Regions from separate parts of the Homo sapiens genome. Here all the other regions are linked to region 2. Evidence: promoter capture Hi-C in 16 types of primary human blood cells and fetal thymus (Javierre and others, 2016). All regions are on one chromosome and are shown on one strand. Each heading gives the region's core, a stretch centred on a gene start or on the middle of the fragment in contact. The rest is flanking DNA. Distances are from core to core; before and after follow the strand shown. Region 1 overlaps CDC16 (cell division cycle 16). Region 2 holds the start of GAS6-AS1 (GAS6 antisense RNA 1). Region 3 overlaps CFAP97D2 (CFAP97 domain containing 2). Region 4 holds the start of CHAMP1 (chromosome alignment maintaining phosphoprotein 1).

Region 1 (5,299 bases), core at 1,478-3,977, 430 kb before region 2:
TTAAGTCAACAGAATTGTAATACATAAAATAAGTAGGCCGCTTATTTAAAAGAATCAAAACCAACAGGAAATCCTATTAGGTTGGTGCAAAAATAACTGCAGTTTTACCACTACGTTCAACAGCAAAAACTGCAATTACTTTTGCACCAAACTAATAAATAGGTTATGTGTATTTGCCAATTAAAATTTTTGTAATTTCAAGGATTTTAAACCGAACCAAGATCTACAAAAAATAGCATATGTCATTTAGCTAAAGTTTAAATTAGGTACACTGGAAAACTGATACATGTGGGAGATGGCTTAGCTACTGCGTGCAGCATATTAAACACCTAGTATCTACAGTGTGAGTCTCATAATTGAGAATAAATTTTACAAAACAATGTGCCAAAATGGAATTTTCAAACTTGCAAATTATCAAGATCAGTAAGAGCAACATGTATATCCCTCCCAAGTTAATGTAATAAATCTACAAATATGCACAAATTCATGTCTGTAAATTGCTCTTTTAAGACAGCACCCTGTTCAGTGCTCTACAATTGGTAAAGATAACTTAAATTATCATCTAGTTCAAGATTATTCAGAGAGCACGTCCGTGAATCACCTAGGTAAGATGGAGTGAACTCCATGTTCCTACAGAAAAATGGATGGATATACTTACACAGAAGTAAGCTTGTAGCACATTTTAAAATCACAGTTATAATAATGTCTCTCAGCTAAAGACACTACCACATCCAGATTCTCTTGCAAGCCATCTACAGATTCAGGGATGACCGTTTCACTAGGCTTATTATACTGAAACACATAGAAATGTAAACATAAACTCAATGAGCAAAAACAAAATAAAATGTGGATTCAATTTGTGTTTGGCCCAAGTGGTTAAAACATTTACAAGAACAAATGTGAGAGCCTCTGAAAACTTATAACTTTAGGTTTTATAAGTACTCCTCTCAGTAAGTTTAATTCCCTTCTCAATTTTAGAACAGAATTCCACAGCGGGACGTATTTCTCAAAGTAAACATTCAGGAAGCATAACAAAAAAATCTTCATTTCCATGCAACACCATTCCATTTACATTTACTTGGTAATTCAATCTTTTAGTATAAGGAGTCTTTCAGAGGAAAAAGGTATTTTTGAAAGCTTTTTTTTTTTGGAATCTTATGTATCTTAAACGCTCTATTCTTAAAAATGTGCTAAATTTAAAAAGTTTTAATTTTGAAAACTTAATATAAGACTAGATGCCAAATTTTATGGAATAAGATATTTACATAAAGCAAGTGCTAACTCTTTGGTTTTACTTACTTTTTTCAATTTGTTCTCAAATAGAAAACGCAGCAATTCCTGTTCTTCATTACACAGCTTGCTAAGGGGTAGTGATTCAAGAAGTTCTTTTTCTTAAAAATGGTGAGAAAAAAAAGAATATCCTCATAATATTTATAGAGGGGAAAAAGCCAACAACTAAAAATATGATTCTACAGTTCTTGGTCTAAGTAAATCAAACTCAAAAGAGAACATAAGATCAAAATGTGCAACAGAAGCTGACACAGTGGCTCCAGGCCTGAAGACGGGAATCATCTGGTGGGTGGAGGCTACTCTTTCAGGGCTGAGGCAGGTCCCCAGGTGGCTCTTGTCACCTAAGAACCACCAGCCTCCGCACTCCTGACTGCGTGGATCTTGCTCTGCTGGGAACAGGGGAGCCTGTGTACTGCAGGTGCTAAGCAGGACCTCTGGCCACTAACCACTAGATACCAGCAGCAACCTCTCAACCTCCCTCCCTGCCCCTAAGCTGTGACAAACAACATCTCCAGACATTGCCAACTGTTCCCGGGGCAGGGGGCGGCAAAATCACTCTGGTTGGTTGAGAACCACTGCACTAGGCTAAAATATGTTAGAATCCCATTAATCCAACCACTCTATTTTCTGTTTCCCTTGTTGACGCACCTCACACCACTGCCAACATACTTGGACTGATTCTCAGTGCCTGTGGTACATTAGGATCACCTGGGAGCTTTAAAGCATCTGCTCTGGAGTTGGGAACTGGACATGGATGTTTCTCTGTCTTCCCAAGGATGTAAAGAGCAACACGGTTGAGAATCACTGCATGAGATACTGAAATCCTGGTTTATACTATCTCAATCACTTCTCAAAAAGATGGCCTCTTCCTATCACAATCCCTAGATTCGGACAGCACAAGGCACCGTACAATACTGCATTCTGCAACGTGCTTTACATTTGAAGACATTAAGAAAGTGAGTAGGTCTATTTAAACCTGTATGTGGCCTGTTGTTGACTTAGAAGATTTCAGAGGCAAAAAATCCAAACAATATTAATTTTGCTAAACATAAAACAAAAAAGCCTGAGTTTCCAAACCTTCTTGTGCTGTCAGCATGTGATGTGATGTTAAAAGATCGAACGCTTCAAAACAGTAGACATCAAGCTTCAAAGCTTCTTTGTAGCTGTAGGTAGCCAGGGTTCGGTTATCTAGAGCATCATAGATTTTCCCGCGTAGAAGACAGATAGAACTCTTTATCTGTTGGAAAAATGATGAGTCACATATTAAGTCAGTACTTTTAAACTTAACTTTTTTTTTTTCTCCTTAGAGGCAGAGTCTCACTCTGTCTCCCAGGCTGGAGTTCAGTGGTGCGATCATAGCTCACTGCAGCCTTGAACTCCTATGATCTCAAATGACCCTCCTGCCTCAGCCTCCTGAGTAGCTAGGATTACAGGTGCACAATACCACAAACAGTTAATTTTTTAAATTTTTTGTACAGACAATCTTGCTATGTTGCCTAGGCTGCTCTCAAACTCCTGGCCTCAAGTGATCCTCCCACTTTGGCCTCCCGAAGTGCTGAGATTACAGGCATGAGCAACCATGCCTGGCCCTTAAACTTAACTTTTGATAGAGAATTGTGTATTTGAATGCTGAGAAGTTTTTATTGCATTTAAAAGGATTTAGTCAATCACAACTGTCAAGGCATAAATAAAAACACACAAAAAATGCACAGCAAAGCTTCTTCAATTCACCTTCCCTGGGCTTCAACTGCTCTGTTCCAACACATCTTTATAACAAAAGTACATGTCACGGCTACTAGGTTCATTACCTGTTTTGTCCAAAACAGTGCAATGATTTAGAGATGGCAGAGTGTGTGTGCATGTGTATAAAACTCCAAGATTGACAGTGTGATAGGCAGACACCCCTCAAAAGGATCTTAATGAGCAGAAACTGGCAGCAATGCAGCAGAGTGGTCACAGCAGTCAGCACAATGGCCTGCTGAGGCAGCACAGACCTGAGTTCAAACCCCAGCTCTGCCAATTACTTGTAACCTCGGACAAGTGATTGAACCTCTCTTGGCCTCCATTTCCTATCCTCATCTGTAAAAAGATAAAAACACTATCTAACTTATAGAACTCTTTACTATCTAACTTATAGAAGTCTGTGAGGGCTAGAGATGCTACCATCTCTGTGGTGCTAGCACATAGTAAGGCGTTCAACAGCCATCTCACGACTACCATAAACACGAAGATGTGGAAATCTGATGCACATTCTAGACTCTGGACCTCGAACACATAACTGAATTTAAAGATGATCCAGCAACAGGCAGCTAGTATCATTAAGGATATGAAGAAGATTCATAAAGTAAAATTTTAGAAAAAATAATGAATTATGAGAGTCTTCGAACTAAGCAATATCCTAGGAGTTGTTTTTTAAAAATGTAATTTCACAAAATAAATAATAATGCGTTGCAAATAAATCACACATTTCATAGCAAATAAGTTAATGGATAAGAGGTCCCAAAATAATGACTGTACCACACACTTTCATAAATGCATTTCTTAACAGAAGAATCTGCTTCCCAACACATACATTAATGAGTGGCCAGAAAAAAAAACAAAAACAAAAACCTAGAATGTGTAATATTCTTTTATGCTTAAAAATAACTATCTAAGGTGAAAAGTCAAGTAATAAACTTCTACCAAAAATATAAATAAATGGGCCAGGTGCAGTGGCTCATGACTGTAATCCCAACACTTTGGGAAACTAAGGCAGGAGGATCACTTGAGCCCAGGAGTTTGAGACCATCCTGGGCAACACAGTGAGACCCTGTCTCTACAAAACATTTTTTAAAAAATTTAGCCAACTGTGCCGGGCACAGTGGCTCACACCTGTAATCCCAGCACTTTGGGAGGCCGAGGTGGGCAAACCACGAGGTCAGGAGATCGAGACCATCCTGGCTAACATGGTGAAACCCCGTCTCTACTAAAATAGCAAAAAATTAGCCGGGCATGGTGGCGGGCGCCTGTAGTCCCAGCTACTCGGGAGGCTGAGGTGGGAGAATCACTTGAGCTTGGGAGGTTGAGGCTGCAGTGAGCTGTGATTGTGCCACTGCACTCCAGCCTGGACAACAAAGCAAAGACCCTGTCTTAATTTAAAAAAAAAAGATGTGGGAAGAAAGAGAAATTGGTAGGTCAGGTAAGGCTTACAGGGATTCTTTCTGAATAATAAAAATATTCTAAAATTGACCATGGTGAGGTTTGCAAAGCTCTGTGAATACACTAAAAGGAATCAAACCATACAGTTTAAATGGGGGAACTGCATGGCATATAAATTATACCTCAATAAGTTTTTATTTTTTTTTTTAAATCCAGATTAGTGATCTGTAAATGTCACTTAATAAGTTACTATATGATGTCTGCCAGCAAGGAATGTGCAATTTCATGGAGATATGAAGTATACAAACTGAAATATACACAATTACATAGCAATGTACTTTGAAGCAAACAGAACACAAAACCATTTCCTGGAAAGAAACAATGTACGCTAATCAAAGTTTCTTGGTGTAGGTCCAAAACACTGCTGAAACACAGAAAGGAGAAGAAAAATTATTCCACTTTTAGGGAGTAGCTTAAGGCATCAAATATGAGAAGGAAGTTTCAAGCCAGCCTATTTTGGATGCAGGCATCTGCGGATACAATTACAGCTTGCAACTAAGGGCTCAGAAATGTCTCAGAATCTTTTTTGGTTTTGGTGGGCAAATTAAATAAATTGGCAACCACAATTGTTTTAATATAGTAATAAGTAAAAGAAGATAATGTGTTTCTGCCACGTAATGAGGGCAATTCTCGCCGCCGTTACTGAGCTGTGCTCACAGTACTACTTACTGAAGACTGTGACATTTCCCAGTCGCTGGAAGGATCTTTGAAGCCACTTTCGTCCTTCAAGTATTTTTCAAATAATCTTTTATTGATGGGCTCTTCCATGTCAAGAACATCAAGGGCCTGCTGGTGCTCTTTTGCAGCATAC
Region 2 (5,694 bases), core at 1-2,500:
GGGTCAAGGACTCCACGAGGGGAGAGGGGGAGGGTCCGCTCCATGGTGCCCTTGTTTCAAGCACGTTTTCTGCTTACTGAATTCCATCAGTTAAAAGGTCTAGGAAACAGAAAAGGAAGTGGCGCGTGTCGCCGTCTGAGGATCTGCTGACGGGCCCCGGCCTCGTGGAATCCTCTTCTGCCTCTGTGGGTCTCCAGAGTTTCGGAGGCATCTCTGCTCCCACCGCGGGGTCTGGTGGCCACGGGGTCCCCAAGTCTGCAGGAGGAGCTGCTCTGTGTGGCGAGGGTGATGACCATGGCTCTTGTTCACTGAGCAGGGCCGGTGGCCAGCACTGTCCAAGTCACCAGTGCAGCCCCATAAGGCCATCTTCACAACATCCTTGGGGCCCGTTTCTCCCACTCCCGTTTCCATGGAGATGTGATTCACACAGCAATAGCCACGCCTCATGAGTGCAGAGCATGGGTCGGTGGTCAGTCCATCCACGGGGCCGTCCACCCATCACTGCCATCTGGCTCCCGGACACTCCTCTTCCCACAAGAACTCGTGTCCCTGACCAGTGACTGCACCTCTCCCCATCCAGAACACGCTTAGAACACACTTGCCTCCCCGAAAAGAACTCGTATCCCTGACCAGTGACTGCACCTCTCCCCATCCAGAACACGCTGCAAACACGCTTGCCTCCCCGAAAAGAACTCGTGTCCCTGACCAGTAACTGCACCTCTCCCCATCCAGAACACGCTGCAAACACGCTTGCCTCCCCGAAAAGAACCCGTGTCCCTGAGCAGTGACTGCATCTCTCCCCATACAGAACACGCTGCGAACACGCTTGCCTCCCCGAAAAGAACCCGTGTCCCTGAGCAGTGACTGCACCTCCTTTCCCAGTCGGCTTCTGTCTGTGGACACGCCTTCTCTGGACACTGCATATAAACAGAACACAGTCTTCATGTCTGGTGTCCTTCCCTGAGCACTGTGTGTTACAGCCTCAGCACCCGTTAGAGCTTCCTTCCTCTCCGTGGCCGGGTGACCCGCGTGTGGATGGGCCACGTCCTCTCCCTCTCTGTGGCTGGGTGAGACCCGCGTGTGGATGGACCACTGTAGTATTCTGTTTTCACACTGCTAATAAGGACATACCCGAGACTGGGAAAAAAAGAGGTTTAACGGGACTTACAATTGCACATGGTTGGGGAGGCCTCAGAATCACGGTGGGAGGCAAAAGGCACTTCTTACACGGCAGGAGCAAGAGAAAATGAGGAAGAAGCAAAAGCGGAAATCCTGATCAACCAGTCAGATCTCGTGAGACTTACTCACTATCACGAGAATAGCACGGGAAAGACCAGCCACCATGATTCAATTACCTCCCGCTGGGTCCCTCCCACAACGCGCAGGAATTCTGGGAAATACAATTCAAGTTGAGATTTGGGTGGGGACACAGCAAAACCATATCACCCATGTCCCTTCCTCTCTCCGTGGCCGGTGACCCCATGTGGACGGACCGTCACCCATGTCCCTTCCTCTCTCCGTGGCCGGTGACCCCACGTGGACGGACCGTCACCCATGTCCCTTCCTCTCTCCGTGGCCGGTGACCCCACGTGGACGGACCGTCACCCATGTCCCTTCCTCTCTTTGTGGCCGTTGGCCCCATGTGGACGGACTGTGTCCCTCCCCCACTCAGTAGTTGCCTCTGCTTGGGAGCTCTTGTGAGCAGTGCTGCTGTGTGAAATGTAGAAACTGAGGCAGGAGGAGACTCCCTGTAACCCAAGGTCCCAAGCTAATAAGGTGGGGCCAGTCTCAACGGACCCCTGCCCAGGGCAATGCTCTGACCCTGCCCTCCTCAGTCACAACCTGCAGCTACACTAGGCCCCCACCTCTGAGCTGCAGGAGAAGCCTGTCTCCTGTGCTGTCCCAGTGAGGCAGGGAGTGCAGGTGGGGCCACAGCACCCCAAACCCCCCAGCACCCCCTGCCCCGGGGCCACAGCACCCCCAAACCCCCCAGCACCCCCTGCCCCACCATCCCCTCCACCCCATCTCCCGCGGCCTCCAGGGTCTCACTGACCTCGGCTGTGCATGGGAACCAAGTGAGGGCGGGATTGGGAGCCCATCCCTGCAGAGGAGGCTGGGATCAGAAGGCCCCAGCGGAGCCCAGAGAGGGGGTTCATCAGACCGTGACTCAGGCTGGCAGAGCTTGGTGGCCCCAGACAGGATCCGTCCACATGAGACAGGTGCACCTCGAGAGCAGCCGCCGCCCACACTGCAGGCCAGGCATTGGCCGGAGCCCTGCGCCAGGTGGGAGCTGCCCTGGGACCTGGGGGACCCTCCAGCCACCACGAACCTTGAGTCAAATTGTTCACATTCTTTGTGGCTGGGATAAAGGATAAGGACATTTTTGTGGCAAGAACAAAACTGTTGACCTTGGAGTTGAATATTTTTGAACAGCTTTTGACTCTAGACAAGATTAAAAGTCGGGAAAGATCGATGTTGTGTTTGGGGGAAGCTGGTGAGTGCAGCCTCGGGGAAGCACTCTGATGCCCCCACACCGCACCCTGCGACCGAGGGCTGACATGAGGGGAAGGAGGGTTATTCCTGTGACTTTGCTGGCCAGAGCTCCAGGGGGCATAGACTCCCTGCCCAGACCTGCAGTTCAGCTTCTCTGCTGTTCGCACCCCTAGGACACCAAGAGGTGCTGGTGCCTGCACCAGGCAGCTTCGGGGGCACAGCCCGAGCTCCAGGGTGCCCAGGAACCGCCCACACAAGACCACGGCACCATCGGCGCCCATAGAGCCTTCCCTGAGGTAAAGTGAGAGCCCTGGGGACTCGGGAAATCCGTGGCACACTTTTCTTCCCCCACAGGCGCTCGTGAGTGCATCTCCCGGCGCTCCAGAAACCTCTTGGTCTCTGCTGCTTGTTCAGCTTCTTACTCGGAGCCAGGCACCCACAGCCCTGGAGGAACTGGGCGGTGATTTCCAGACAGGACGCCGCACCTCCGGCTCGTGCCCGACCTCCCGGACTGGTTCAAGGCCAGTCAGCCCTGAGAGGCCAAGACCACATTCTCCTGGACAGCAAGCTTGTGAGGCTGGATTTTATAAGATAAAAATGACAAGCAGTGGCGGGTTCACAGACCAGAGCTGGCTGCAGGCCTTTCAGAGGCCCGTTAGGGCCCCTGGGCCCAGCCAGCCACCGTTCATGTGTGGATGTGCGCTGTGGGCCTTCTGCCCAGGAGCGCTGGACACAGGATGAGACCCTCCGTCGGGCAGAGGGAGGCTCCCGGGCAGCGGAGGGGGCAGAGGCTGTGTGAGACCCTCCATCGGACAGAGGGAGGCTCCCGGGCAGCAGAGGGGGCAGGAGGCTGTGTCTGCACGAGTGTGGCTCCCCTCCACCTTATCTTTTTTCTCCCAGATCCAGGACTGGGCAGGGGAGAAAGTCCCCGCTCCACCTCCCAGGTGGGCACTGTTCCGTGAAGTAAGCTGGAGACCTCAGACCCACACGGGAGAAGAGCGGTACTTGTTTATCGTAGGCACGGGGGGCTTTGCAGGGAGGGACGTGAGGCCCTGAGAGCGGTGAGGCCTGGAGGCGCCAGCTTCCGAGGGGAGAGGGAGTGACTGGGGAACCGTGAGCGGCCCACAGAGCAGAGACGGCGACTTGGTGTCTTGTGGCACGTCTGGGGAGCAATGGGATCACCTCTCGCCCGCCCTCCCGCCCTGGGAGTCCCTGGTTCCCTGAGGATCTGACTTCAGGAGTTCAGAGAAAGCCTCTCCCCACATCCAACACTTTTCAAGAGACTTCGGCTACTTTGGGGTGGCGCATCCTGAACTCCTGTCACTGGGGCGCCTGTGACCCACCCGGGACCCGTGACCCACTCGGGACCCGTGACCCACCCGGGACCCGTGACCCACCCGGGGCCCGTGACCCACCCGGGACCCGTGACCCACCCGGGACCCGTGACTCACCCGGGGCCTGTGACTCACCCGGGGCCTGTGACCCACTCGGGACCTGTGACCCACCCGGGATGCCTGTGACCCACCCGGGACCTGTGACCCACTCAGGACCTGTGACCCACCTGAGACCTGTCCTGTGACCCACCCGGGGCCTGTGACCCACCCGGGACCTGCTGCTTCCCAGGCGTGCTCACCCGTCTCCCCAGGTGTGCCCGGCAGGTGCATGCTGGGCCCGCGGGGAGCTAAGCTGGTTTCCACAGGGAGTGCTGCGGCCCCAGACCCTGAGCCAAAGGACCCCGAAACACCGTCCCCCACCATCCCAGCGGCCAGGGGTCCTGAGACAAGGTGCGGTGAGGGAGAAGCCGCGGAAGGACAGCGGAAGCCCAGGCGCCGTAGCTGGGAGACAGCTCAGGGGAAGACCCTCGTGCCAGTGGCCCAGGCAGATTTGCATCCGGGGCTGGGAAAGACAACCGGGCCCCTGGATTCTAACAACTCACAGGCGGTTAGACACAGCGCTGGGCGTTGGAGCCGAAGCGTCCTTCCCTTCCTGGCATACGTCAGGAGCACAGCACGAGGGGCGGGTGGCTTCTGCCCTGCGCTTCTCCAGGACACAGATGCACACACGAACGTGTAACGCACAACACATGTCCACAAACAAGAACACACAGGCAGGGAGGCCGGGGCTGCACTGTCTTTGCAAAATCATAATAATAGCTAATTAATTAAGGGATGTGAAAACACCAGAACAATTGCTCTCAGAGGAGGAGGCCGGGTGGGAACTTTCAGCGCCATTTGATGTGAGCAGAGCCCAAGCCAAGGTGTCACCAGCCTGGGTCTGGAGGGCCCCACTCCCTGCCTGGTTCCAGCCTCCCTCACCAGTGTGCCCAGGGAGGAAAGGAGGGGACAGACTTCTGGAACATTCTCCCGGGTTCTCTAGGAGGTTGGCCACAGAAGCGGGATTTCTAGAGGCTGCCTTTTTTTTAAAAAAAAAAACAAACAAGTTATCTTTTACTCCACGCCTCTATCAGGGTGCGTAGGGGGGTGGCTTCTCCCCCGGGGGAAAGTAGGTGGGTGCGTAGCACGGTGGAGCCTGGCCGGGAAGCCCAGAGCCAGAGCTGCTTGGAGAAGGGGGCTGCAGGTCCTCAGACGAAGCCAGGGCAGAGGAGGGCGCAACTGGGAAGCGGCTGCAGGGCTGCAATAAACAGAGAGGGCCCTGGGTTAGCAGGTGAGACCACCCCGTGCCGGACCACAGGGAAGCCTGACATATACCAGGGCCACTCACACGCTCCCCACCCACCCCGCCAACCCAGGGCCACCCGCAGACTCAGGGCCATTCACATGGGCCCCCCGCAGACCCAGGGCTATTCACACAGGCCCCCTCAGACCTAGGGCCACTCACACAGGGCCCCCCGCAGACCCAGGGCTATTCACACGGGCCCCCCACAGACCCAGGGCTATTCACACGGGCTCCCACAGACCCAGGGCCACTCTCACGCCCCTCCCCTCCCCCGGAGACCCAGGGCCACTCTTACGTCCCCCTCCCCCACCGCAGACCCAGGACCTCTCTCACCGGCCCCCACCCCACAGACCCAGGACCACTCTCACCGGCCCCCCCACAGGCCCAGGCCCACTCTCACGGGCCCCCACAGACCCAGGACCACTGTCACGGGCCCCCACCCCACAGACCCAGGACCTCTCTCACCGGCCCCCCCCACAGATCCAGGACCTCTCTCACTGGCCCCCACCCCACAGACCCAGGACC
Region 3 (6,065 bases), core at 1,617-4,116, 410 kb before region 2:
TGTATGTTTTGTAGAGGTAGGGTCTCACTGTGTTGCTCGGGCTGGTCTTGAATTTCCAGACTCAAGCAATGCGCCCCGCCCCCCACACTCCCCCGCCGTATCAGCCTCCTGAGGTGCTGGCAGGTGTGAGCCACCGCCGGCCAGCGGCATCTACTTCACAGGACGTCCATTCTGGAGATCGCCACTAGTGGGCACCATTTCTCCACGCATCCATGGGCTTTTCTCCACGGTCCTTGTTAGCGGATGGCTGCTGGCCTGGGGCATTTCAGTTTTTGAAAGTCTCTGACCAGACATGCACTCATGCAGCGAGGGACTCTGAAGGTTGTCTCGAGGCCCAGATCACAGAATCTGAGAGGCAATGGGGCTTTACAGATGGATTCCCCAAGGGTTCCGTTTAAGGAGTTCTTTCCATTTCAGCCACTGTTTTGAGGGTCAATGCAATTTGTGGTTCCCCTTCCCCAACCTGTAGGTTACATGAAAACTAAATCTGGTCTTTAAAGAACTATTTATTGTCTACGGAGTTTTAGGACATTATAGTTACTGTTGAGGAGAGAAGACAATTAAACAAATACCAATACAAGAAAAGTCCTAGTTGGTAAATACTGAGAACTTTGCAGCTGTGTGAGCGTAATGACATTTCACGAGTGGCTCCAGCCCAGTGTGGCACGGCTTTGGCACATCTCCGGACCTGAAAACAAGCTCAGTGTAACATGGGACAGACGTCACAGTCTGCCGCCTGTGTCAGTCTTGCTGGTTTTAATAACGTTTCAATGTGTGTTTCCCTACCAGACCCATGTGCTGAACCCAGCTGTAGCTCACCAGAGTTTGCCTTCTTTGCTAAGCAAGCCTGCCCTCCAGGCTTGGCACCCATTTCTGAAACAGAGATGTTTCACAGCGTTAGCACCCGAAGGGCCTGGACTCCATCAGCTGCCCAGGTTGCATTTCCAGAACATTCCCTCACATCTGGAACTCTATCCACATCGCAACCAGAGGGGCCTACACGCCCCCTAAGGCCAAAGACATCACCCTTTTATAGTGGCCTCGTTCTTCTCTGAGACAGATGAGGTCTGGGAGTCCTGAGAGTGGCCTTGTGTGACCCTTCTGGTGGCAGCAGGGAAGAGTGTGGCGATCAAACTCGGCAGAGCCACGGCCAAAGGGCTGAGATGTCCAGCAGCCCCATGTCCCACTGACCTGGAGAAAACACACAGCAGCCACTGCTTTACCGACTTTGGCTTCACCACTGCAGGGTGGGGACCGGAGTGAGGCAGAGGAGGCGCTCAGGGCTCAGAATGAAGGAGGCTCCTCAGGTGAGCCCTGCATACCCTAGGGCAACAGCCTCCTGTTCTGCAGGGGGCACTCCCTTCCCCCACCCCAGTACCAGCCTGGGCCACGCCTGCAATTCTTATTCCTCCTTCTTTCTCCTTGTCCGTCCTCCCCAGTCCCCTCCCACTCCCCTTTTTGCCTCCCTCCTTCTCTTCTCCCTCCCCTCCCCTTCCACTCCCCCGGCTTCGCTTCTCCTCCCCTCCCCCTTTCCATCCCCCCTCCCTCCCCTCCCCCTTTCCCTCCCCCTCCTTCCCCTCCCCCTTTCCCTCCCCCTCCCTCCCCTCCCCCTTTCCCTCCCCCTCCCTCCCCTCCCCCTTTCCCTCCCCCTCCCTCCCCTTCCCCTCCCCCCTCCCCCCTCCCCTTCCTCCCCTCCCCTTTCCCCCCTCACTTCTCCTCCCCTCCCTAGCCCTTCCCCCTCCCCCTCCCTCCTCTGTCCTCCTCCTCCTCCTTCTGTCTCTTCCCCTCCTCTTCCACTATAGGACTACTTTTCTACCTTCTTTTCCCTTCTCCCTTCTTCTCTCCCTCCTTTATTTTCTTCCTTTCTATATTTAACACGTATTTCCTGTGTGCCCACCTCACACAGGATAGACAGGCTTCTGTCCTCACTGCTCCATCCATTATATTTATGATGGTTTTAAAGCATTTCAAAGTTCTATAGGTTTCAATTAATTTGATACCCAGAGTAACATGGGACAGACACATCTCTGGATCTGAAAATGCACCTGGTACTTGACTTTTCAGGTCATCAGAGCTTGTGGGTGGCTGGTTTTTACACTAAGGCTGCTGGCAGGATGCTCATTTGTCCACTGACTCTCTGAGCAAAGTCCAGAAGGGAAAAGAGCTGACATTATGGCTCTTCTGTGTAATGGCAAGATTTTGTCTACTTCTTGACTATGTGTAGCAATTTGTCAGTCTTTATAAACTGTTTGCTCTCTGGAAAGAGAGATTGAAAAGAGAACAATGTTCTCAGGACCAGACAGCAGCCTTTCTAGTTTTGTGATAGATCCTTTGACGTTCATTGCATTAGGGCCCATCAGGGAGGGCTGGCAGAGGCCAGGACTCCTACAGCACAACCCTTGTGGGGTGGAACAAGGTGGGGACACACAGGCAGGCACATTCGGAAAATGCTGCCAGAGTCAACCCTAAACTGCCACCTCGAAAAGGAGGTGCAAATTCGAGGCTTGCAAACCAAGGACACAAATCGCTATGGAGAGGCCATTTTTTCCATCAAGTTTAGCACAGACGTGGACTGTTAATGGAGGTCCTGTGCCCAGTTGCGCTTCACGACACAGGGGGGCGGGGCTGCCTGGAGAGGTCATGGCTGCAGTGGGCAGAGGCCCAGCTCCTCCCGGCCCGATGCCGGCATCTCAGGCTCCAGCACCACCTGCTGCACAGGAGAGGCTTCGGGAGGTCCACTCGGGGGATCAGCAGGAGACCCAGAATCCACATCCAGGCCTGTCTGACCCCACAGTCTGTGATTTTAAACACTGTCAATGGAAGGTCCACCCTGAGGAGCGGTGAGGAACCTGGGATTGCCGAATTCTGCATGGAGGAGCCGGAGGCAAGCTCTGCTATTCATGTCAAGTGTATTTTAAAGGGGCTTGTGCATAAAGGAATGAAATAAGGAATGAAATTAGCTGCTGCTTCTTTTTTTTTTTTTTTTTTTTTTTGGTAGAGACGGGGTCTCATCATGTGGCCCAGGCTGGTCTTGAATTCCTGGGCTCATGCGACCCTCCCACCTTGGCCTCCCAAACTGCTGGGAATGTAGGTGTGCGATACCATGCCCAGCCTGAAATTATCTTCTTATTTTCATTCAAACAAAACAAAACAAAAATTTAAATCTATAATATAGGTTAAAAATAGCAAAGAGTACTTTGGGAGGCCAAGGCAGACAGATCACCTGAGGTCAGGCATTCAAGACCAGCCTGGTCAACATGGTGAAACCCCGTCTCTACTAAAAATACAAAAATTAGCTGGGAGTGGTGGTGCATGTGCCTGTAATCCCATCCATCTCAAAAAATAAATAAATAAAATAAAAATAATAAATAAATAAATAGCAAAGAGTAGTTAGGGACCGTGACATTTCTGAGGGGCTAGCTATCAGCTCCATGAGGCTGAGACTACATATGCAGAGTTCTGTTGAATGAATGAAGGTGTGTGTGAGTCTTTTAACTCATTTTTAAAAGGCATTGCCCATGGGCTGATGTTCATTGTTGTGGAACAGCTTAGGCGGGATCTTACCTGGGGCTGATAGAGAACTAAGCAGATCCCAAGGGCTCTCAGACATACCCTTGATGTCTCCAACCGAGACTCTCTGGGTCCTTTTTTCTTTTCTTTTCTTTTCTTTTTTCTTTCTTTTTTTTTTTTTTTTTGAGATGGAGTCTTGCTCTGTCGCCCCGGTTGGAGTGCAGTGGCGCGTTCTCGGCTCACTGCAACCTCCATCTCCCAGGTTCAAGCGATTCTCCTGCCTCAGCCTTCTGAGTAGCTGGGATTACAGGTGCCCGCCACCATGCCTGGCTAACTTCTTTGTATTTTTAGTAGAGATGGGGTTTCACCATGTTGGTCAGGCTGGTCTCGAACTCCTCACCTTGTGATCCGCCCACCTCGGCCCCTCAAAGTGCTGGGATTACAGGCGTGAGCCATCGTGCCTGGCCCTCTGGGTCTTTTTTATATCTTAGGTTATGTATTCTGGAGTCAAGCTGTAGTTTCATCACGTTCAAAAATTTTAATCTGATTTATTTAGATATTTGTTAAAGGAACAATCACAGAGCTTTTAAGGTAAGTTAAAAATCCACCTAGGAATTATAGACAAATCCACCACAGCTCAAAATACAGTAACAGAATAAGTCTTCATAGCTAGAGAAAACAATCTAATTCAAACCCTCACCTCCTAACATGACTCTGCATAGTTTGTTTCCAGTTATCAGAGTCCAAGAAGCACAGAAAATAGTTTTGCTGCGTCATCTGCTCGGGCACATTGTTGAAACACCGTTTGAGGAGCTGCCTCCTGGGCACTTCACAGCTGCTCCGGCTGTGATAACAGTGAAGAGAGGAAGACAGCGGGGCTGCCCTGGCCCCGGCCCTGGGCAAGGCTGATTCCCCACACTGCCCTGAGACCGCTGGCTGTGTTAGCCTGGGGGAGCTCATGGCTGGCCTTGTGGGTCTTCCTTGTGACTCCCTCATCACACTTGTCTTCTTTCTGGATTTGTGTTCTGAATCCTTACCCTTCCTCACTTCTCTTTTAGGGTCCAGGCTTGGCTGTGCGCTTGCTAATCCAGTTTCACTTCCTGCTGGATTTAAAATACATATTTGAAACTAACGCTTTCTTAGGCAAGAACAAGAAACTATCAACTTACTTGGGAAATGGAATATTTCAACTCATTGACAAGTCTTTACTTAGAATTAAACATACAATTTTTAAAATAACAGCTTTATTTAGATACAATTCTATACCCCTTTATAGTGTATATTTTAGTGTGTTTTGGTATATTCAGAGTTGTGCAACTATTGTCACAATATAATTTCAGAACATCTTCATCACCTCCCCCTCCAAAAATCAAACTCCTTTGGGATCACTCCCCAATTTCCCTTCCCCCAGCCCCGACAACCACTGATTACTTTTTGTCTCTTTGAATGTGCCTATTCTGGACATTTCATATAAAAGGGATCAGACAACATGCGGCATTTAGTATCCAGCTTTTTCACGGAACATAATAATGTCTTTAAGGTTTATCCATTCTGTAACTAGTATCATTCCTTTTTATGGTAGAATAATATTCCATTCTATGGCTATACCACGTTTTATCTGTTCATCAGTTGATAGACATTTGGGTTGTTTACACCTCTTGGTCATTGTGAACTGTGCTGCTATGAACATCAGTGTATGGGTTTTTGCATGAATGTATGTTTTCAAGTCTCTCGAATATAGACCTAGGAGTGGAGTTGCTGGGTGATTTGGTAACTGTTTAACTTTTTGATGAACTACCAAACTGTTTTCCAAAGTGGCTGCACCACTCTTTTTTTTTCTTTTCATTTTAAGTTTGTGTACCTTTTATTTCATTTCCTTTTTTTTTTATTACACTTTAAGTTCTAGGGTACATGTGCACAATGTGCAGGTTTGTTACATATGTATACATACCACTGTTTACCCCTACCAGCAGCCTATGAGGGTTCCAGTTTCTCCACATCCTTATTGTAATCTACCTTTTGATTGCAGACAAGTTAGTGGCTGCAAGTGACATCTCACTGTGGTCTTCATTTGCATTTACTAATAACATTGAACATCTTCTCATGCACTTATTGGCCATTTGTATATCCTGTTGGGAGAAATCTCTATTCAAATAATCAGATAACCTTTTGTCAGTTTTGTTGTTAAACATCTTTCTGAAATGCAGCAAAGTACTTTTCCCGGAATCAGTAAACTGAGCCATGTTGGCTTGTTGCTGGATGGTAAAGGGCCTTCAGGAGGAAAAAGGAAAGAAACTCAAATTTATCTTTTGCCAAGTAAGTGTGAGTCACTTTTTTTGTTTTTTTGTTTTTTTGAGACGTAGTCTCGCTCTGTCGCCTAAGCTGGAGTGCAGTGGCGCGATGTCGGCTCACTGCAACCTCCGCCTCCCTGGTTCAAGCGATCCTCCTGCCTCAGCCTCCTGAGTAGCTGGGACTACAGGCGCACGCCACTACACTCAGCTAATTTTTGTATTTTTAGTAGAGACGGGGTTTCACCATGTTGGCCAGGATGGTCT
Region 4 (6,046 bases), core at 2,080-4,579, 500 kb before region 2:
CCAGATGGTGTATCATACCTATTTCCCATCTCCCATTCAATTTCTTCTTTGAAGTCGAACACCACTGATCATCTTTTAAAACACATCTGATGCATAGTTTTTTAAATTAAAATTCAATAAGTAGAACATGTTCAAAGCTAAATGGGTTCTATTAGTCTATACACACTAGCATTGTTCTTTATCTTAGCGGACTTTTTTTCTTTTTTAGAGACAGGGTCTCGCTCTGTTGCCCAAGGTTTTGGTGCAGTGACGCCATCACAACTCACTGCAGCCTCATACTCCTGGGCTCCAGAGATCCCCCCGCCTCAGCCTCCTAAGTAGCTGGGACCATAGGTACCTGCCACCACATCTGGCTAATTTTTTTTTTCTGTAGCGATGAGGTCTCACTATGTTGTCCAGGCTGGTCCTGAACTCCTGGCCTCCAGAGATCTTGTTGCCTTGGCCTCTCAAAGTGCTGGGATTACAGGTGTGAGCTACCATGCCTGGCCTTTAAGAAATTAATAAACTGGGCGGGCGCAGTGGCTCACACCTGTAATCCCAACACTTTGGGAGGCCAAGGCAGGCGGATCATTTGAGGACAGGAGTTCGTGACCAGCCTGGCCAACAGCCAACATGGTGAAACCCTGTCTCTACTAAAAATACAAAAATTAGCTGGGCGTGGTGGTGCATACCTATAATCCCAGCTACCTGGGAGGCTGAGGCAGGAGAATCGCTTGAACCCGGGAGACGGAGGTTGCAGTGACCCAAGACTGAGCCACTGCACTCCAGCTGGGCAACAGAGTAAGACTCCATACTCACCCCCAACCCAAAAAAGAAAGAAATTAATAAACTAATTTTCCAAGTAGTTTTATGTTTGAAGAAAAACTGAAGGGAATGTACAAGAATTCCCACCTATCTTCTTGTCCCCAGTTTTTCCTACTACAGGCTGAGCATCCCTAATCTGAAAATCTGAAATCTGATTATGCTCCAACATCCAAAACTTTTTGAGTGCCAAAAGGAGCATTTTAGATTTCAGATTACGGATGTTTAACCAGTAAGTACAATGCAACTATTCCAAAATCCAAAAAAAAAAAAAAAAATCCAAAGCACTTCTGGTTCCAAGCATTTCGAATGAAGGATACTTCACCTGTATTAACATCTTGCATTAGTGTGAGATATCTGCTACAATGATAAGCTAATACTGATTTATTAAGTAGTCTATAGTTTACACAAGGAGTCATTTTTATTTATTTATTTTTTTTTGAGAGGGAGTCTCGCTCTGTCACCCAGGCTGGAGTGTAATGGCGCAATCTCGGCTCACTGCAATCTCCACCTCCCAGGTTCAAGCGATTCTCCTGCCTCAGCCTCCCCAGTAGCTGGGACTACAGGCGCGCGCCACCACAGGCTCACGCCTGTAATCCCAGCACTTTGGGAGGCCAAGGTGGGCGGATCACCTAAGGTTGAAAGTCAGAGAGCAGCCTAACCAACGTGGAGAAACCTCGTCTCTACTAAAAATACAAAATTAGCCGGGTGTGGTGGCAGGCGCCTGTAATCCCAGCTACTTGGGAGGCTGAGGCAGGAGAATCGCTTAAATCCGAGAGACGGAGGCTGCAGTGGGCCAAGATCGCATAACTGCACTCCAGCCCAGGCAACAAAAGTGAAACTCTGGCTCATTAAAAAACAAAAACAAAAATAAAAACAAAAAACTTGCCATTTAGGCCGGACATGGTGGTTCATGCCTGTAATTTCAGCACTTTGGAAGGCCGAGGCGGGTGGATCACCTGAGGTCAGGAGTTCGAAACCAGCCTGACCAACATGGAGAAACCCTATCTCTACTAAAAATACAAAATTAGCCAGGTGTGGTGGCAAGCGCCTGTAATGCCAGCTACTTGGGAGAATGAGGCAAAAGAATCCCTTGAACCCAGGGGGCGGAGGTTGCAGTGAGCCAAGGTCGGGCCATTGCACTCCAGCCTGGGCAACGAGAGCGAAACTCCCGTCTCAAAAAAAAAAAAAAAAACAAAACTTGCCATTTAATCATTTTTAAAAGCACAATTTAGTTAGTTTAGTACTAAAACGTTGTGCAAACATCACCACTATCCACTTCCAGAACTTCTTCACCACAAACAGAAATTCTGTACCCATGAAACAGTAACTTCCACTCTCCACTTTCAGTGCTGGTAATCTCAATTCTGTGCCTGAGGGGGAATCATACAGTATGTCTTTTTTGTGTCTTATTTCACTCAACATAATGTGTTCAATGTGCTCGTTTATACTGTATAATGTGTTCGTTTATATTGCAGCATGTATCAGAATTTCATTCCTTTCTAAAGATGAACAATGGTCCATTCATTATATGTATATACCACAGCTTGCCTTTCATCCACATGTTGATAGACATCTGGATTTTGAATAATGCTGCGATGAACATTTGTGAACAAGTATCTGAGTCTCTGCTGTCAATTTTTGGGGGTATAAACCTAGAACTGAGGAACGACTACCAATTTCCATAGCTGCTGCACCACCCTACTTTCCCACCAGCAATGCACCCGAGCTTCAATTTCTCCACATCCCCAACACTCATAATTTCCCTTTTTTTTAATAGCCACCCTAACAGGTGTGAGGTGGTATCTCATTGTGGTTTTCATCTGCATTTCCTTAATGGTTAGTGATGTTGAGCATCACTGCACGTGCTTATTGGCCATTTGTCTCTCTTCTCTGGAGAAATATCTATTCAAATTCCTTGCCCATTCTTGAACTGGGTTGCTTTTTGTTGGTCAGTTGCATCTCTTCTTGTATTCTAGACATTAACTCTTTATCAGGTTTACAAATGTCCTCTCCCACTTTGGAGGCTGTATAGCGGATTTTTAAACAGTAATAATGACAGAAGAGGAGGCAGTCTAGAACTAAAACAGAAAGAATGGCTTTCGTCTTGTGCCGCCCTCAACTTCCCAATGGTTTCAAACGCAATGTTTCCAGCCTCGGCAGCGACTGACACCGGGCCTCCCCGCTCCCTGCACAAAGACGCACTCCCGCCCCGGCCTGTGGGGGCGGGCCCTTCCCTCGGGCCGTGTGGGAAGCGAGGCAGCGCAGGCCCCCTTCACTCGGACCCGCGGCTTCCCGGGACCGTCCCCGCCAGGTCGGCGGCCGACACGGGGCTCGGGGATGCAGGCCCCAACCACGCCCCTCCCCCGCTCGCTCTCGCTCCTCACCGGTCCGGCCGCGGGCGGCGTCCAGTGGGCGATGGACCGCGCGGAGGGCCCGGCTCGCGGTCGCGGGCGGCTCCGCGAGGCCCTGCAGCGCAGCGGCCTCCCGAATGGCGACTGGATGCAGGAGCCGGGATCCGGGTGCGCGAGCGTGCGCGCTCCCGCGGGACGGGCGGGGGCTGACGGGAAGCAAGTTTGGCGCCGCGCGCCCTCCCGCGCGGGCCAATCAGATCGCCGATCGCGTGGCGCGGCTGTGCCAAAAGTGCGTGGGCAAAACTAGCGGCTCGCGCGGGCCTTCGGAAGGGCTGCGTGCCCGCCCCGCCCCGGAAGTGCCGCACGTGCCCACTCCGCCTCCGCTTCCCGCGCGCGCCCGGGCGCGGCTCCGGGAGGGTTCCGCCGCGTCTGGCCTGTGGCCTCCGGCCAGGCCCTTGGAACGGCCCCGGCCTGCCGCCGCCGTGCGGATATCTCTTCCTTTTCTTGCTGTTTTGATTGTTGTGTGAATGAATTTATTAGGAAAAAAAGAGCTAGACCTGCCCCATACATTCTCAGGGATATTACTGGCATAATACCTATGACAAAAGTACAAGACAAAGTTGTTGGATGACAGTAAATATTCCTTTTCTCATCACCCCGCCTCCACTGAAAGTCCCGATTCCCAGAAGTTATCTTCTTCGTTTTTTGTTTTCAGTTTTATGAATGTTACCACCACAATTCTAATTAAAATGCATGCACCTCTAATGCTGATGCCATCAGTCTGTATGCTTTGAAAGACTGTAAAATTAGCTCACACTGCTCTCTACCTTTGTACCCTTCTGAAGTTTTGCTTGTTGTGAATTTCATTTTTGTTTTTGTGGTGAAAATGAACTATAGAATGGCCGGGCGCGGTGGCTCACGCTTGTAATCCCAGCACTTTGAGAGGCCTAGGCAGGTGAATCATCTGAGGTCAGGAGTTCGAGACCAGCCTGTCCAACCTGGTGAAACCTTGTCTCTGCTAAAAATACAATATTAGCCAGGCGTGGTGGCGGGCGCGTGTAACCCCAGCTACTAGGGAGGCTGAGGCAGGAGAATCCCATAGAACCGGGGAGGCGGAGGTTACAGCGAGATCGCGCCACTGCACTCCAGCCTGGGGGAGAGAGTGAGACTCTGTCTCAAAAAAATAAAAATAAAATCCATAGAATTTACCGTCTTAACTATCTTTACGTGTACAGCTCAGTGGTGGTAAGTATATTCATAACACCACCATCCATCTCTGTACCTCTTTCATCTTGAAAAACAAACTATGCATTACATGTTAACTCTCGGTTCCCCTCTACCTTCTACTTTCTGGCAGTCACCATCTTACTTCCTGTGTCTCTGAGTCTGACTACTCATAAGAGTGGAATCATACAGTATTTGTCTTGTGACTGACTTATTTTACTTAGCAGAACATCCTCAAGGTTCATCCATGTTGTAGCACATTGTGGAATTTCCTTCCTTTTTAACACTGAATACTATCCCATTGTATGGATATGCCACATTTTGCTTATCCACTCACCTGTTGATGGACACTTGGCTTGCTTCCCTATTCAAGATATTGTGAATAATGCTTTGACATTTTCAAAGAACCAATTTTTGGTTTCATTGATTTTCTCTATCGTTTTCTATTTTCTATTTCATTTATCTTGGCTTTAATCTTTATTATTTCCTTCTTTTTGCCAGCTTTGGATTTAGTTTTTCTTTTTATAGTTCATTAAGTTGTAAAGTTAGGTTGTTAATTTGAGATTTTCTTGGTTTTTGATGTATTTATAGCTATAAACTCCCCCTTTAGCATTGCTTTTGCTGTATCACAAAAGTTGCTATATTGTGTTTACATTTTTTTCTTTTCTTTTCTTTTCTTTTTTTTTTTTTTTTTTTTTTGAGACAGAGTCTCGCTCTGTCGCCCAGGCTAGAGTGCAGTGGCGCCATCTCGGCTTACTGCAAGCTCCGCCTCCCGGGTTCATGCCATTCTCCTGCCTCAGTCTCCCGAGTAGCTGGGACTACAGGCTCCCGCCACCACGCCCGGCTAATTTTTTTGTATTTTTTTAGTAGAGACGGGGTTTCACCGTGTTAGCCAGGATGGTCTCGATCTCCTGACCTCGTGATCCGCCCGTCTCAGCCTCCCAAAGTGCTGGGATTACAGGCGTGAGCCACAGCGCCTGGCTCTACCTCCCTTTCATGCAAAATTTAGGATCCTGTGTTAATTTCCGGAATGATTCTGATTTCTAGGATTCAAATATCAATATTAAATATTTTAGGATTTTTCTAAGTTTTGTTTTTGCAGCAAAATTGATTCATTAAATTTAATAGATTTCTTTAAAAAGTATCCACCTAGTTACAAGCTTTTAAAAGAGCCAATGAAAACAGTTTGTAAACTGTAAATGTTAAATGCAGAAATGAGAGGATCTTTTATTTTCTCTGAATAGCAAAGATTTACTGATTGAGAACTTTTTGAGATCCTGACTCTTAATATGAAACAGGTTCGTTGTGGCTGCAGGACCTAATTTGAATGGCTGCTTCAGTTGTTTTTTCCTGAAGTGTCAGAATGAGTTGATGATCCCAAGAGACCTATTCCAATTGAACACTGAACAAAACTCTAGCAGAAGGCAACTCTTGGTGACGAAATAACAAAAACCAAAACACCCTCTGCTATTATTCTGAATTGAAATCATGTTAAAAAAGCTATTGTAGTTATAGAATATTAAATAGTTCAAGATGAATAATGCAAATAAACTCCCAATTTGGCCTTTTGAAAGGTTCCCAGTATATTGCACTAAACTTTAAAGTAACCAAAGAAAGCAGAAATAACTCTCATAAAATCCTGTACTAAAACCAGACCCTTATGGACT

The links. The method cuts DNA at HindIII sites, captures the fragments that hold promoters and counts their contacts. A CHiCAGO score of 5 or more calls a contact.
Region 1: a contact is called between a fragment that was not itself captured here and the fragment with the promoter of GAS6-AS1 in region 2, in 1 of 17 cell types (total CD4 T cells). The highest score is 5.0, in total CD4 T cells.
Region 3: a fragment that was not itself captured here is called in contact with the fragment with the promoter of GAS6-AS1 in region 2 in 10 of 17 cell types (non-activated CD4 T cells, erythroblasts, total CD4 T cells and 7 more); the score reaches 7.8 in non-activated CD4 T cells.
Region 4: the fragment with the promoter of CHAMP1 here is called in contact with the fragment with the promoter of GAS6-AS1 in region 2 in 2 of 17 cell types (total CD8 T cells and non-activated CD4 T cells); the score reaches 5.5 in total CD8 T cells.

Annotation. Positions count from the first base shown.
Region 1 is chr13:114,239,349-114,244,647 of GRCh38, reverse strand. CDC16 (cell division cycle 16) reads right to left here. Exons shown (of 18, transcript NM_001078645.3): 5 at 5,158-5,298; 6 at 2,368-2,527; 7 at 1,300-1,391; 8 at 659-792. MIR548AR (microRNA 548ar) reads right to left here and starts at 143; the gene lies at 87-143. The HindIII fragment of the contact is 565 bases long and covers 2,445-3,009 here.
Region 2 is chr13:113,811,166-113,816,859 of GRCh38, reverse strand. It overlaps GAS6-AS1 (GAS6 antisense RNA 1), which reads right to left and starts at 1,250. Exons shown (of 5, transcript NR_044995.2): 1 at 1,169-1,250. TMEM255B (transmembrane protein 255B) reads right to left here. Exons shown (of 9, transcript NM_182614.4): 9 at 1-5,124. The coding sequence ends at 4,957. RefSeq lists enhancers at 827-946, 1,007-1,246, 1,297-1,366. The HindIII fragment of the contact is 6,758 bases long and covers 1-3,063 here.
Region 3 is chr13:114,221,046-114,227,110 of GRCh38, reverse strand. It overlaps CFAP97D2 (CFAP97 domain containing 2), which reads right to left. Exons shown (of 4, transcript NM_001395229.1): 4 at 4,026-4,610. The coding sequence ends at 4,604. Among named protein-coding and RNA genes, the nearest start is that of CDC16, 11 kb to the left of the region's middle. RefSeq lists an enhancer at 67-296 and a silencer at 43-337. The HindIII fragment of the contact is 7,731 bases long and covers 1-6,065 here.
Region 4 is chr13:114,311,786-114,317,831 of GRCh38, reverse strand. CHAMP1 (chromosome alignment maintaining phosphoprotein 1) reads right to left here and starts at 3,329. Exons shown (of 3, transcript NM_032436.4): 1 at 3,189-3,329. RefSeq lists silencers at 2,992-3,671, 4,444-4,738. The HindIII fragment of the contact is 6,923 bases long and covers 1-5,541 here.